Linked DNA regions of Homo sapiens: region 1 is linked to region 2. Evidence: promoter capture Hi-C in 16 types of primary human blood cells and fetal thymus (Javierre and others, 2016). All regions are on one chromosome and are shown on one strand. The core of a region is centred on a gene start or on the middle of the fragment in contact, and the rest is flanking DNA. Distances in the headings are between cores, read along the strand shown. Region 1 has its middle 47 kb from the start of NTS. Region 2 holds the start of TMTC2 (transmembrane O-mannosyltransferase targeting cadherins 2).

Region 1 (7,186 bases), core at 863-3,362, 3.2 Mb after region 2:
GAAGTAATATCACACTCATAATCACTTCAACTTAGTAGTAATCTTGATTGTTCATTAAACAAACCCTCCTACCTTTTTTTCTTCTTCAAGAATGTTAGTTATTTTTGTTACCCTTGTATTCCATTAAAAATTTGGAATTAGCTTGTCAAGTACCACACATACAAACAAAACCTGTAAGGATTTTTATAAGTATTGCATTAAATCTGTAGATCAATTTTAGAAAAATGAACAACTTCAAAATATTGAATTTTATAATCCACATACCTGGCATATCTTTTTTCTAACACTCCTTTAATCTCCCTCAAAAGTAAAAAAAGATAATTTTGCATAGAGCTCTTGCAATGTTTTGTTAAATTTATTTCTACATAATATTGTTATTGTTCTTATAAACAATAACTTAATTTGTTATCACTTCATAAAAATATACTTGATTTTTAAAAATATATTTACCTATTTAAGTCCTTTGTCCATTTTTGAATTGGGGTTTTTGTTGCTGTTTTAAGAGTCTTCTACAGATTATAGGTGTTAGTCCCTTACGAGACATGTGATTTGTAAAGCTGTTTTTTGTTTTTTTTTTTTCCTTCTGTAAGTTATCTTTTTACCAGCACCACTTTTACTGTTCTTTTACTATTGAATGGTCTTGGCACCACTAAGGAAGTCATTTGACCATATATGCCAAAATTAATTTCTGGGATCTTTAATCTGTTACAATGGACTGTAAGTCTGTCTTTATTCCAGTACCACAATGTTTTGATTACTGTAGCTTTGTAGTAAGTTTTGAAATAAGAAAGTATGAGTAATCCAATTTTGTTCTTTTTTGTCAAGATTATTTTGGTGATTTGAGGCCCCTTAGGTTACATATTAATTTTAGGATTTATTTTTCTATTTCTTTAGAAAACAATGTCGAGATTTTGATAGGGATTGCAATGAATCTTTAAATTGTTTGGGGAAGTATTGACATCTTAACAATTTGAAGTCTTCCAATTAAAGAATATAGGATATCTTTCCATTTATTGATGTCTTCTTTAATTTCTCTCATAAGTGTTCTGTAGTTTTCATTGTACAAGTCTCTCACTCCCTTGGTTAATTCCTAAGTATTTTCTTCTTTTTGGTACTATTGTAAACAGATTTGTTTTCTTAATTTTCTTTTTGGATTGTTCATTGTTAAAGTATAGGGTCACAAATAATTTGTGTTGATTTTGTATCCTGCTACTTTACTAAATTTGTTTATTCATTTTAAGTGATGTTTTAAGTAGAATCTTTAGGGCTTTCTGTATGCAAGATTATATCATCTGCCTTAGAAAGGAGCGTCACAATAATTTATCAAGAATTTGTCTCCATTTACTTCAATACTTTTATGGTGGTGAAAATAGGTTAGAATGACTATTGGTATATAAATTTAAAAGAATAATAGATAATTAAAGATATTTTGATGAGTGGCAGGTTATTTAAACACATTTGTGCTATAGATAAAGAAACTTAATGTCAGTTTATTTATTTATTTACTTTTGAGATGATGGAGTCTCACTCTGTCACACAGGCTGGAGGGCAGTGGCGCGATCTCGGCTCACTGCAACCTCCGCCTACCGGGTTCAAGCGATTCTCCTGCGTCAGCCTCCCGAGCAGCTGGGACTGCAGGCAGGTGCTACCACGCCAGCTAATTTTTGTATTTTTTTAGTAGAGACGGGGTTTCACCATATTGGCCAGTCTGGTCTCAAACTCCTGACCTCGTGATCCACCCGCCTCAGCCTCCCAAAGTGCAGGGACTACAGGAGTGAGCCACCGCGCCAGGCCTGATGTCAGTATATTCAAAAGCTTCGAGTTCTCTGACTGTGGAGTTAACCTTTGCTCCTCAGTTACTTTGAGGCATTGTAAATCCTGGGGCCTAATTCACATGGACCTCCTTTAGAATAATCAAAGATGAGATAAAAATACAGAATATTTTTATAGCATTTTAATTATCTTGGAAAATAGTCAAGTTAATTACTCTCTTTAAAAACTAAAAAACACAACTTCATTTCCTGATCGTACCGGAAAAAGAGAACCTATAAGTTATCTTTACACATTCCAATAATCTTTATTACATCACCTTATATGGCATTTTAAAGTTGCCATTAGCATAACTTATTGTTGTGATTGTATATCTATAAATAATCTTATATTTAGGAGTATAAGGCAGATGGGTTTTCTTGCACAATTCATAATTTCAAGGATGTGAACAGAGAAATAAAAATGATACAAAGATAGGTGCATAGATTATAGGATCTAATTTTGGAATTATAGACAAATTTCAGAGATGCACGGAAAAGACTACCTGTGACGATAAGCAAATCTAAAGAGGGCGTTTAAAATATATTTTTATTTTTTGCATTATATTGCCACCTAGTGGTTACAACAGATATGAAAAGCAAAGCTTTTATAACCTTTGATGTCAGAAAGCCTTAACAGTCAACAAATACTGAAAAGAGAGAAGAGATGAATACATTTTAATGTTACTTTCTTTTTTCATTTTCTCTGCTCATCTGCTTAGAGAGATAATCACTAGTTCTGTGGAAGGCAGGAGGGGAAATAATTCAGACCCTTCCCACTAGCAGTGACTATGGCTAAATTTCTGCTTACATACTTGAAGACAAACATACAGCATCAACAGGATATTAATTTCTTTATAAAGACTATACAGTCTAGACAGTATTTAATAAGAATATGTGCCCTACTAAATAACTCTGGCTTTTATTCTAAATAAATATTTTTCTTTTTAATTGCAAGGAGCCCTCAGTTTAGCTCAGAATTCCCTTGCTGAGCCACCATAAGAAAATGGTGCTAATACAAAATACAAATACAAAATAGTCTCCCCATCCCCTATTTCTCTATCTTTTTGCTGTATCTGGCCAAGCTTTGAATAGTCTCCCCTATTCAAATTTTTCAACTCATATGAAAAGAGAAATGCCAATTCGTTCTTTAACATTGTAGGCCAGCATTTCTTGCATAATATTATAACCAATAAAATTTGAGCTCAATGAATAATGACCATATATCACATTATATATTTTGAATTTTAAAATTAAAAAATTATATTTATATATTTATTTGTGTCCAAATTGGAATAAAAATAATTTTATTTATAAAAATAATTTTCATTTAATGAAGTTTAACAGTACAAAATAAGCTATAAAGCTACCACCTTTAAGTTGTTCATCTCCTTACCAACTAGTATATAAGGTCATATATTTTATATATGATTTTCTGAGGCTTAGTAGAGAAGGAAACCCTGGAAATTATAATATACTTAGAAAACCTGGTATATGTCCAGGGAAGTCAAATTTGTTAAAACATAATAAACATTTATTAAATAAGTGAAGGAATGACTAAATGAATGGATGGATGTATGGATGGACGGAGGGAAGGAGGGATGGATGGATGGATGGATAGATGGATAGGTGGGCTGGCAAACTTATAGAAAGAGGATTTCTCCTTCCATGAGTTCAAACATTAGACATTAAAAAAAAAAGTTCTCAATTTTCCCATGAATGAAACAGATGTCTTTATATCCTTGCTCCTTCTAGGAAGGCCCAACAGTGCCATTTTAGAAATTCTTTGAGAGAGAGGTGCCACTTAAAGTAAGCAATCCCCAGTTGCTCAATCTGACAAATCACTGCAAATAATAACATGTTACCAAAATTAGCCTCCCCCATGCCCCCCAAACAGGATATCAAGCAGTCTGGTAAGAGATATACAAATAGAAAATTGTTTCAAGGGATTTAGGTTCCAAAAGTGGTGGTGGTGGTGGTGGTGGTGGTGGTGGCGGTGGCGGTGGCGGTGGCGGTGGCGGTGGTGGTGGTGGTGTGTGTGTGTGTGTGTGTGTGTATTTATAGGCTTCTTGTGTCTTTGGAAAAACCATGTCATAGGACCTCCTAATTTACCCTGCGTAGGAATTCTTGTAAGCATTTGCAGTGCCCTGGTGCTCTTTGCCGTGTAGGGTTTCCTAAAACCTCTACTGATTAACTGTTTAATGTGGGCACTTTTTAACAAGAGAGAGTCCAGAATACAATAAGGGAAGGATAAAAATTTATATTCCTGACATGCACAGTGGGACCAGGGCCAGTGAGTTTTTTTCTGGTGAAAACATGCTGGCAAAATATTTGGCAGTACAATTAATGAAGACCTTTAATGAACTAACCAATACTAAGAAAGAATTCAGTGAAAAATTCTGTCAACAACTTTTCTAATAAGCCACACTAATAGAGAACTAGGATTTCAAAATGAGTAACTTTTCAGTAAAATTCCTTGATAAACTTTTTTTTTCTTATGAAATGCTAATGACTAAACAGTAAATATGTACAGCATCAAAATCCTTGGTGAAATCACAGGGCTATTTCAACTATAATGAAAACCGTCACCACTCTACAAAGAGAGACCTCATGATTTGCAGCAAAGTATCTGTCTGTTTTCTATTGCTGTTGTAGCAAATTACCACAAATTCACTAGCCTAAACCACACAAATTTATTGTCTTACTGTTCTGAAGGCCGGAAGTTTGAAATCAGTCTAAAAAGGTGTATTAGTCTGTTTCTGCACTGCTATAAAGATACCACCCGAGACAGGGTAATTTATAAACAAAGGAGATTTAATTGACTCACAGTTCCGCATGGCTCGGCAGGCCTCAGGAAACTTATAATCATGGCAGAAGAGGAAGCAGGCATGTCTTACATGGTGGCAGGCAAGAGAGAGTGAAGGGGGAAGAGCCCCTTATAAAACCATTAGATCTCATGAGAACTCCCTCACTATCAAGAGAACAGCATGGGTGAATCTGCCCCCATGGATCCAATCGCTTCCCACCAGGTACCTCCCTCAACACCTGGGGCTTGCAACCCAGATTATAATTCAAGATGAGATTTGGGTGGGGACACAGCCAAACCATATCAGGTAAGTCAAGGTATCTGCAGGGCTAGCTCCTTCAGGAGTCTCGGACCAAGGAGTCTGCTTCCCGGTCTTTTTCAGCTTCAAGCAGCCACATGTATTCCATGGTTTGTCATCTTGTAGCCTTTCCTCCATCTTCAAAGCCCATTACTCCAATTTCTCCTTACTTCATTAGGTAGCCATCTCTTCTGACTTTACTCCTCCTGTTTCCCTTCCAGAATAATCCAGGTCCACTAAATAATCCAGGATAATCTCCCTATTTCATAATCCTTAATTTATTCACATCTGCAAAGTTTCTTTTGCCAATATAAAGTAACATTCACAGGTTCCTAGGAATAGGATGTGAATATATTTGAGAGCTATTATTCAGCCTACAATGGTCTCTATGTATCTGAAGTAGATAGCTATACATATTTATATAGAGGGCAATAAATTTAGGGTCAGTTAGTAATTTAAATTATCATAGAGATATTTATGAACCTTGATAATAATTAAGCTCCTATTAAGCTCCTATTCATTCCACTTTTCAAAATATTGAACAATAGATTGCACTTACATTTTAGTATATTTTTGTCAGGTTGTTACTCTCTTGAACATTTCATTTTTATTTTATCAAAATTTCTTTATGTAAACCAGAAGTACCTAAAGCTGTACATTTTTTCATATATTCTGATATAGTTTTGCCATTTTCCTTTTAGGTAAATATGTTACCATGGGTTTCCTTTGAAAGTCAAAACTCTAAAATTACAAAAAAATTAAAAATATACTCAAGAGGAATAAAATTAATGAGGAACAAGCAGATATGAGGCATCTACATTAAAGAAGTATCAGGGCAGCATAACTATTTTTGACCACTAGGTGGTATTCCTAATCCATAAAACTGTGATAAAACATGTTCTTTAAGATTTAATTTCTTTTGGAAGTTTAGTCATTTTATTATTTTTGGACTGATTTTTAATGTGAGATTTAGATTAGCCAAACAGTGGTTTCTTACAAAAATACCTCTCCATTGAATTTCAATACCACAGACATACTTTGCTTTAAACAACCATGTTTTTAAAATACAGGACAGGACTAGAACAGTTTGTTGGCTGTTTCCTCACAGTTTATTTACTTCTTAATTGTAAGTTTCTGTTGTAAAGTACCATAAAGTTAGTGCAAACCAAATAATTATTATCTAGTCTCCTCCCCTGAAACACATAAACAAGTATCAATACAAAAAATTAACATTTTTAAATAATACTATTTATACGTTTACATCTTAACACTGTTAAATTTTCATAACCCTGAATATCATGTTCTTAATGGATAATTTTTAAATCAGATAATAAGGTATATAGTACATTTCTTTGATATTTTCAGAGCTTTAAAATAATACAGAACCATGGCTTACAATAGATCTCTGTGATGCTGCTAGAGCACTACTTATCACATTTTCATACATGTAAATTTCCAAAGAGCAAATTTTGACAAGAGTGTCAGCAGAATGGCATTTTTAAAGGTCATACTGAGTGTTACCATCTTTGCTACACATAAATCTTTGTGAAAATACAATTACAAGTATTTTTCCCTAGCTGCTGATTAATTAAAATTTGTTTTTTACAAAGTCGAATTCATTTAAAAAAAAAAAAAATCAGATGCAATATCCCGAATAAAAAAGGGAAGAAATCAACTGATTTGCAGTTCAGAGGGATTGTATTTTTTAAAAAATTGGGCAAAGCATTTAAATTATGAAAGAAAGATTAATGGAATTACAGTAATTTTCTATTAAAACTCTACTTTTGCTTGTAATTACATGTGACTATTGTGATTGAAAATAAAATTTTCAGTCATGCTAATGAGCCACAATCTGTGACACTGAGAGCTATACAAGTAGATTTCTCCATTATATCTAAAAAAATTGCAGATGAGTAACTAAACCTTATGCTGGAGCCCTGTCTTTGGTGTCGCATGTGAAGATTAACATTTTATGTAAGATCTGCAATGTGTTCATATTTTAGAATAAAGAAAGAGTTTTGAAAATTATTGACGTAAGTAAATAAACTGAATTTCAACTATGTTGGGACATGATTCAAAGGCATTCAAAATTTTTTGAAATATATTTTCTGATTTGATTTGGTCTTTTAACAGTATTGAGAAGTTTGTAGCTCAACTGGGAGGTAAATTAGGTTATTTTGCTTACTCCCTACTGAAAATAGCTAGAAACATTGGAGCATGAAACCAAAAGTGTACAAGAGCTATATTTCCTCCATAGAGCAAAGATCTAGGAGA
Region 2 (6,949 bases), core at 4,066-6,565:
TGTGGGAGGATGTTGACAACTAACTGGCTTTTACATGAAATCCACCGTAAAACACAAGTGGTGTTGGTCAGCCGACAGCTTACGCTATTCTGTCTAATAAATTAGCCACTAGCCACATGTCACTAAATTTAAATTAATTGAAATTAAACAAAATTAAAAATGCAGTTCCTCAGTCACAGTAGCCACATTTCAATTGCTCAATGGCCACATATAACTAATGAACAGTGCAACAGAAAATCACCTCTGCAGCAAGTTCTGCTGGACAACACTGGCTTAAAAGTTTCATATGGGTTAAACATCAAGGCAACATTCATGAATAGCTGGTGAATTTAACTAATGTCCACGTCAAAATTAATTTTCCTTAAAGAATCTGAGGCTTATCAAAATTTGTTTCCTGATGGTGCAATTTTTCAAGCTGTTAGAGCATTCTTGATCACTGTTTATATCAGTGCATGTGAATGCATTCAGAGAGATTCTATAAAGGAGGCTGTCCTTGCTTTTCTTGATTGAGTTTTTGAATTCTATCATTAGCCTCAACATCTCTGCAATTATTCATATCTGGTTATTAACATGTTATTTCTATACTCCTCCTCCTCCTTGTCTCCTCCCTCACCCCCACATTCTCAGACTTGGAAGCTGGGGAGACTGTGAGATTCTTAAAGTGATCATTATTTTGCTAGCAGCTGGTTCTTAACAGTCCCTGTTTTGAGACACAGGTGACAAGATCTGTTTCCGTGGCTGCCTTGTTCTACTTCTATTCCTAATGGATCACAAGTCTTGGGATAAAGTGATGTTATACATTGTAGTGTCTGCAGGGCAGCACTTTATGGTATGCTGGGAAGAATCTAAATGTAACATGTGTTGCCAATGCATTTACAGTCATTAGTTAACCAAGCCGCCCATGTGCCTGTCTCAGCTCCCTGACCCACATTTCATCCATGCTCTGCTGTTTTTCTCCTGCAGGGTTATTTCCTGAGTAAATCCCAGAGCTTATGAGTCCCCCAGCAGAGAGCTCTGTTCTGACCTCCCTAAACAGGCAGTTTCACCTGCTGGGCTAGTGTTTTTCTGCTTCTTAGTCAATCTGTTAAAATTTTAGCAGGAGATACTTGGATACCTTTTCAGAAAACATATGGAAGATTGTAATTATTTTGGCCCAGTACAATTTTAGAATTGAGAGAGCAAGGAAGAGGCGCAAATCTCCTGCTCATAAATAACCAAATCTGTGGGCACTTTAAAAAGCATTCTGTGCAGCAAGAGAATTTACGTGCCACATTTCACCCTTGGCACACTTTCCAAATGAATTGTTCAAAGAGAAGTTATATTAGGACAAATAGAAATGACGACCAGGACCAGATGTGGATCTTTAGTTAATATTTATGCAACACCCAAAGGGAAGATAGTATTGCACAATAAACTAAAAATGTCTTAGGCAAATAAGGAAATCTTTACCCTGAGGAACTGGCACTGCAAAGGTATGAATTATACAACAAAGGACTGAGAATGCAGAACAAATGCAGGGTAGGTCGGGGCTACTATAAAAAGGAATTCATTGAGGAAGTGGTGAGGTAGCAGATGTGTGGAGCCTACTTCAGGAAAATAAGGGCTTAGCGCTTTTTTGGCCAGTATTGTGTCTAAGGTAGAAAATTCAAGCCAGCCATCCTAATTTCCTTCACCTGTGGAGAGCAACTGTCGCTTTAAATAGAACATACACATATTCAGAACTGATGCTGCAACCTTACATCAAATAAGTACACCTTGATAAACTAAAAACCTATGTCCTCAGATTTTAAATGATCTCCAACAATAATGATGACATCTTTAATCTGATTTTCCTCCTAAAGTTGTTCCAGGAAGGTAGAAAATTCAGGAATTGGCTGCTTCTCAGCCCTTGGAGAGCAATCTAAAAGAGACCATGGCTTAATGCTCTGGAAGGATATTGAAACCTACATTAAATTATAATAGAAAAATTTGTTAAAAGCAACTGGATTTCTCAAACACAGCTAGGTTTTCAGCCTTCTGTTTATCAGGGAAGGCAAGATGTGCCATTTTACAGCCCATCTCCCAGTCACCTAGGCTTCCAATTCAGAGGTATTGGGAGGTGGGGAAAGGAGAAAACGAGGAGATGGAGGAGTGTATAAAATTTATTTAAAACTATTGGAGCCATGGCTGGGCGCAGTGGCTCATGCCTATAATCCCAGCACTTTGGGAGGCCAAGGCAAGTGGATAACTTGAGGTCAGGAGTTCAAGACCAGCGTGGGCAACATGGTAAAACCCCCGTCTCTATTAAAAATACAAAAATTAGTCGGGCTTGATGGCACACACCTACAATCCCAGCTACTGGGGATGCTGAGGCAGGAGAATCGCTTGAGCCCGGGAGGCAGAGGTTGTAGTGAGCCAAGATCGGGCCACTGCACTCCAGCTTGGGCGACAGAGTGAGATTCTGTTTCAAAAAAAAAAAAAAATTAAAAATTAAATTAAACTATTGGAGCCTTAAAAATGAACACAGCTGTGGAAAAGGCTTACAAGCTTTTAGCATGTGGAACCCAAAGCTCTCTAATATTTTTACATATCTGAGTCCTCTTAATAACTGAAGAGACCTGTCCATGTGACTCCCCTTCACGGGTATTCCTGCAGACTTGATGTATTCTGAAAAACTGTGAACCTGCTCCCTTCCTCTCTCCTTGGTTAATACTTCACGATCTTTAACACTAACGACAAACAATAAATCAGCGATGAAAATTTTTGGATTTTCCAGCTGTTACGTAGTTTCTCCTAAGCACATTTATTTTGTTCATTTATTAACAATCTTTTTAAAGTTTCTTCTCCGTGTCCAGATGTTATAGGCTCTGGGTTTTATGTGGAAAAGAAGACTGACAGGATCCCTGACCTCATGGAGCTTCCACTCAGTGGTGCTTCCAGATACTAATACATACTATGAAGAAACTAATACATGGTGGTTGGATAGAGATTGATGGGGGAGAGCCTACTTTATTTCTGAGGTTATGCCATTTGAGCTAAGACCTGAATGGTGAGAAGGAGCTAGAGAAGGTTTGAGGAGAAGAACCTCATGCAGGAGGAAGAGAAAGTGGTTAGTTCCTGAGAAGGATGTCTGTGTTGTACACATATGAACACAACATGAAGCGGGAGGGGTAGTCTGGGCTAAATGAAGGCTTGGCTGGCCATGGTAAGAATTAGTTTTATTAGCTGTAAAACAGGAAGTTGTTGGACATTTAAAAATACAACAGGAAGTTGTGGAACATTTAAAAATTGGGAATGTATAGGTTTTCAAAGGAAACTTCTGCCTAAAGTTAAAATTGGGGAAGGGAGGCATTGCAGGGGTAGAAGTACGGGGACCACTTAGAGGGCTACTGCATTTGTCTATGCAGGAGATGAGGGCAGCTGGGCTGTGGACTCAAGTAGTAAAGATGTGATAGGATGTGTTTTGGAGGTAACTGTCCAGGTTTTTGTTAACAAGTAAAATGAAACGAGGAAGCTAGAAAGCATAGTAATAATGATATACTAGCTAATACTTCTGTAGCACTTTCCTGGTCCCTTTTAGATATTTTACATAGGTTAACTACTTTAATACTCATAATAACAGTACTCATAAGATAAGTACTATTATTATCACTGTTTCATAGATTAGAAAACAGAGTCACAAAGAGGTTGAACGACTGGCCAAAGATCGCCCAAATAGTAATAGCAGAGTATGCACTCAAACTTAAACATCTGATCCCACAGTATGTGTTCTTCCTTCAGTGTTCTAGGACACCATATACATATTTTATATATACTATATATATCTCAGCATGTAAGTGCATTGGAGAGACACAGAGCATCAGGATGGACTAACTGATATGATTTTCAAAATTTTCAAGTGAGCAAAGGTTATGGAGGAAAAGGGTAAAAGATCAGTCCCTACCTGTAAAGACATAATTCCTTTTATTTTTGTTTACATATATTTGTCCAGGGCACAAAAAATGTGCTACTGTGGATGGCATAACAGGTATAATATTAATAAATATTCATCATTTTATCTGTGTGTATCCAATACAGATTTCTCAGATTTCCTTGTGAAATCAGGGAAATATGTAGCTTTGTTCTACAGAAGCCCAGACCACGGTATTTTCTTTCCAGGCCACTGCTAGACACCCAGGGGGCTCAATTTCTTGCCACAGTTTCGGAGAGCTTGCTGGTTAGGTGCTGCTCTTGGTTGGAACCAGTCGGCCCGCATGCAAAACAGACCTGTCTTCCACACCTTGTGGTTACTATGCAGCAGGGGGCGCTGCAGTAGTGTACATCGCGGTGCACCGGAGCTACTCTCCTGGCCAGAAAGCCAACAAGCCGGGAGGAGGCGTGTCAGGCAGCCCTGGGTCCTCTTTGGTCTTGCAACTTTAGTACCCAGAGCTTGTTCTACACAGACCATTCTACACCATATTTCACCATGTTGGATGCTTTCCATCCAGTCCTGCCTCCGAGCGGAAAGGAAAGGGCATTAGCTTACTGCCTTACTAGGTTTAAGTATAATGCTGTACCGGCTTGCACTAGAGGTTTCTCTCCTGTGTTCTCAGGGTCAACCCGACAGTCCCTCTGAAACCACGAAGGGGTCCCCGGGCAGTTGCTGCGGGGTGTGTGTGTGTCTTTCTTTCCCTTTTTGGGGTCCTTTCTTTTTAACCTTACTGAAGGAGGAAACGTTTCTCTCCCTACACGTCTTTCCACTGACATTGTGGCCAACCGTAGGCTAAGAGCTGAAATCTCTCCTTCCTAAGTTGCCTCCAAGCTCTCCAATACTACCTCCTCCCCCCCATTTAGTCTCACACACAGTGTGCGTGAGAGATCGCCAGTGAGTTTGTGACAACCGAAGCTGCAGCAGTCGCCAAACCTGTTCTTCCTCTCCCGGTCTCAGAAGTCTCTCCAGCTGACCGGACTTACGCCTGGCAGCTCTTGGCACACACAGCGCTGTGGCTGAGATTCAGCCGTGCCAGGCGCTGCCAGGCAGCAGCGGGGCGACCGACCACCTCCTCCTCGACCTCCTTTCTCCCAGCTTCCCCTCCCAGGGTGCACTGTATCTACTCCTTTGGGCTGTCTTCCAGCCGTCGCCCTTGGGTCCCGGGGGCTTTCCAGAGTGAAATCGAAGGTGAAAGAAACAAGAGGACGGGAGGCTGGTAGGAGGAGCCTCCAGGCCGGGGAGGGTGGGAGGAGCCTCCAGCCCGAGGGGCAGGGTAGGAGGAGCCTTCCGGGAGGATCTGGGTGGAGAAAGGGGCTGGGCCAAGCCGGGATGGAGGGTTGGTCACGCAGGCGCGGGGGGCCGCGTCGAGAACCCCACGCGGGAGCTTCTGGAGTCTCCAGCCACCGCTTCTCACTTCACTGGAGAAGGGAGCTGGGGCTGGGGCTGGGGCTGGGGCTGGGAGGGAGCTAATAAACATTGAATGTGCAGCAGCTGCCTTGGCGGCCGGAGTCCGCCCGAGCGACACCGGAGCAGTGCGCCCGGGAGGCGGCGAGGGGAGGCGGTTCGCCTTGTCCCTCCCACCCGCGCCTCTTTCTCTCTCTTCCTCCAGCTGGTCCCAGAGCCCGGCTTGGTCCGGTCCCTCTGCCCCCATCCCGCACCCTTCCACCTCCTCCGAGTCCCACTCCTCACCTAGGACGCCCCAAACTGCCATGGGTTAGGGTGGGGATCGCGACCCGCGCGAAAGACCAGCCCTGCGCTTCCGCCGGGGGACGCGGAGCCCAAACGCCGCTCACCGCTTGCGGGCGCCGGGCATGGGGAGTGTGGTGTGAGCCCGCACCCGGGGAGGACGCAGGAGCTGCGGAGACGGGCGCGAGGAGGAGGAGAGGAGTCGTGGATTGGAAGGACCCGAGGGAGGGAGGGTGGGGAAGCGAGGGAAAAGTGAAGCTGGGAGGAGAAGGCGGCGGAAGGTGGAGATTGATGCTTCTGTTTTTTGTTGCCGCTGCTGCCCTCGCGCTGGGAGCCGAGCCGGAGGGAAGGCGGTGGAGAGATGATTGCAGAGTTGGTGAGCAGCGCTCTGGGGCTCGCCTTGTATCTCAACACCCTGAGTGCGGATTTCTGCTATGATGACAGGTAAGGGGCCGAGAGGAGGGGGCGACGGGCTGCAGGGGGCACACTCCGCAGTGGCTCTGAAGCTTCCCTCTTTAAGGCTCAAAGTGCGTCTTGGAGGAACTGGTTCAGCACCTGATGGTTTAGGCGACACGTAAACATTAACACCTAAATCAAACACCGGGGACGTGAGGCGCGCTGGGCGGGCCGAGGGAGTTTCCGCTCCTAGTTTGCAGCAGGTTCTCTCCCTTGCTTCTCGGCTGTTGGCAGACGCTTGAGTTTCTTAGCGGAAATCCCGGCAATTTGGGAAACTGTTTAATGAACGTATTAAATTAAAGTCTTAGGTATTCCTTGATGCAACAAAGCACATTAAGTGATTTTACGTCTGGTTGGGAGGAAGCCTCTCCTCGATCCCTGATAGATCCTCCCTGTCCCGTTTCCTTTTATTGATGGGACACTTTTATTTCCCGAAGTTAAAACACACGTTTGATAGTTGCCAAAATTGTGAAAAGGGAGATCGTTCTCTGCTTTAACTTTCCCTTTTAACGTGTATAGACTTTTACTTTGAGCCAAAATAATGCTGCTGATGGTCTCTCCCGCCGCCCTAGCCTCCTTCACCAATCCATTGGGCAGCACTTTATAAAAGCCTCGGCTTTCTCATTTCTGTTTGGGAGTTGTACATTAGATGTTAGTGGTTCTTTTGTACTAATTGGAGAAGAAGACGCCCCTAGAGACTGAAGTTGTCTTCTGCACTTAGGTTAGTTTGGGTGGCTAATGAGACCTGAACTGTGTTGTCAAAGAAACTGCATCGATTTCTGGAAAATGTCACCGTTGTGTTGGTGTCTCTTCCTATCTTTTAAACGTTATTAGTGTTCAGAAAGTGATGAAAAGCCC

What was found. Contacts are between HindIII fragments. The CHiCAGO score rates a contact against its expected background, and 5 or more counts as called.
Region 1: a fragment that was not itself captured here is called in contact with the fragment with the promoter of TMTC2 in region 2 in 1 of 17 cell types (total CD8 T cells); the score reaches 8.2 in total CD8 T cells.

Annotation. Positions count from the first base shown.
Region 1 is chr12:85,918,158-85,925,343 of GRCh38, forward strand. No RefSeq gene overlaps it. Among named protein-coding and RNA genes, the nearest start is that of NTS, 47 kb to the left of the region's middle. The HindIII fragment of the contact is 598 bases long and covers 1,814-2,411 here.
Region 2 is chr12:82,681,591-82,688,539 of GRCh38, forward strand. TMTC2 (transmembrane O-mannosyltransferase targeting cadherins 2) reads left to right here and starts at 5,316. Exons shown (of 12, transcript NM_152588.3): 1 at 5,316-6,079. The coding sequence starts at 5,997. RefSeq lists silencers at 4,267-4,346, 5,197-5,296, 5,867-5,916, 6,277-6,336 and enhancers at 4,777-4,926, 4,947-5,156. The HindIII fragment of the contact is 3,615 bases long and covers 2,525-6,139 here.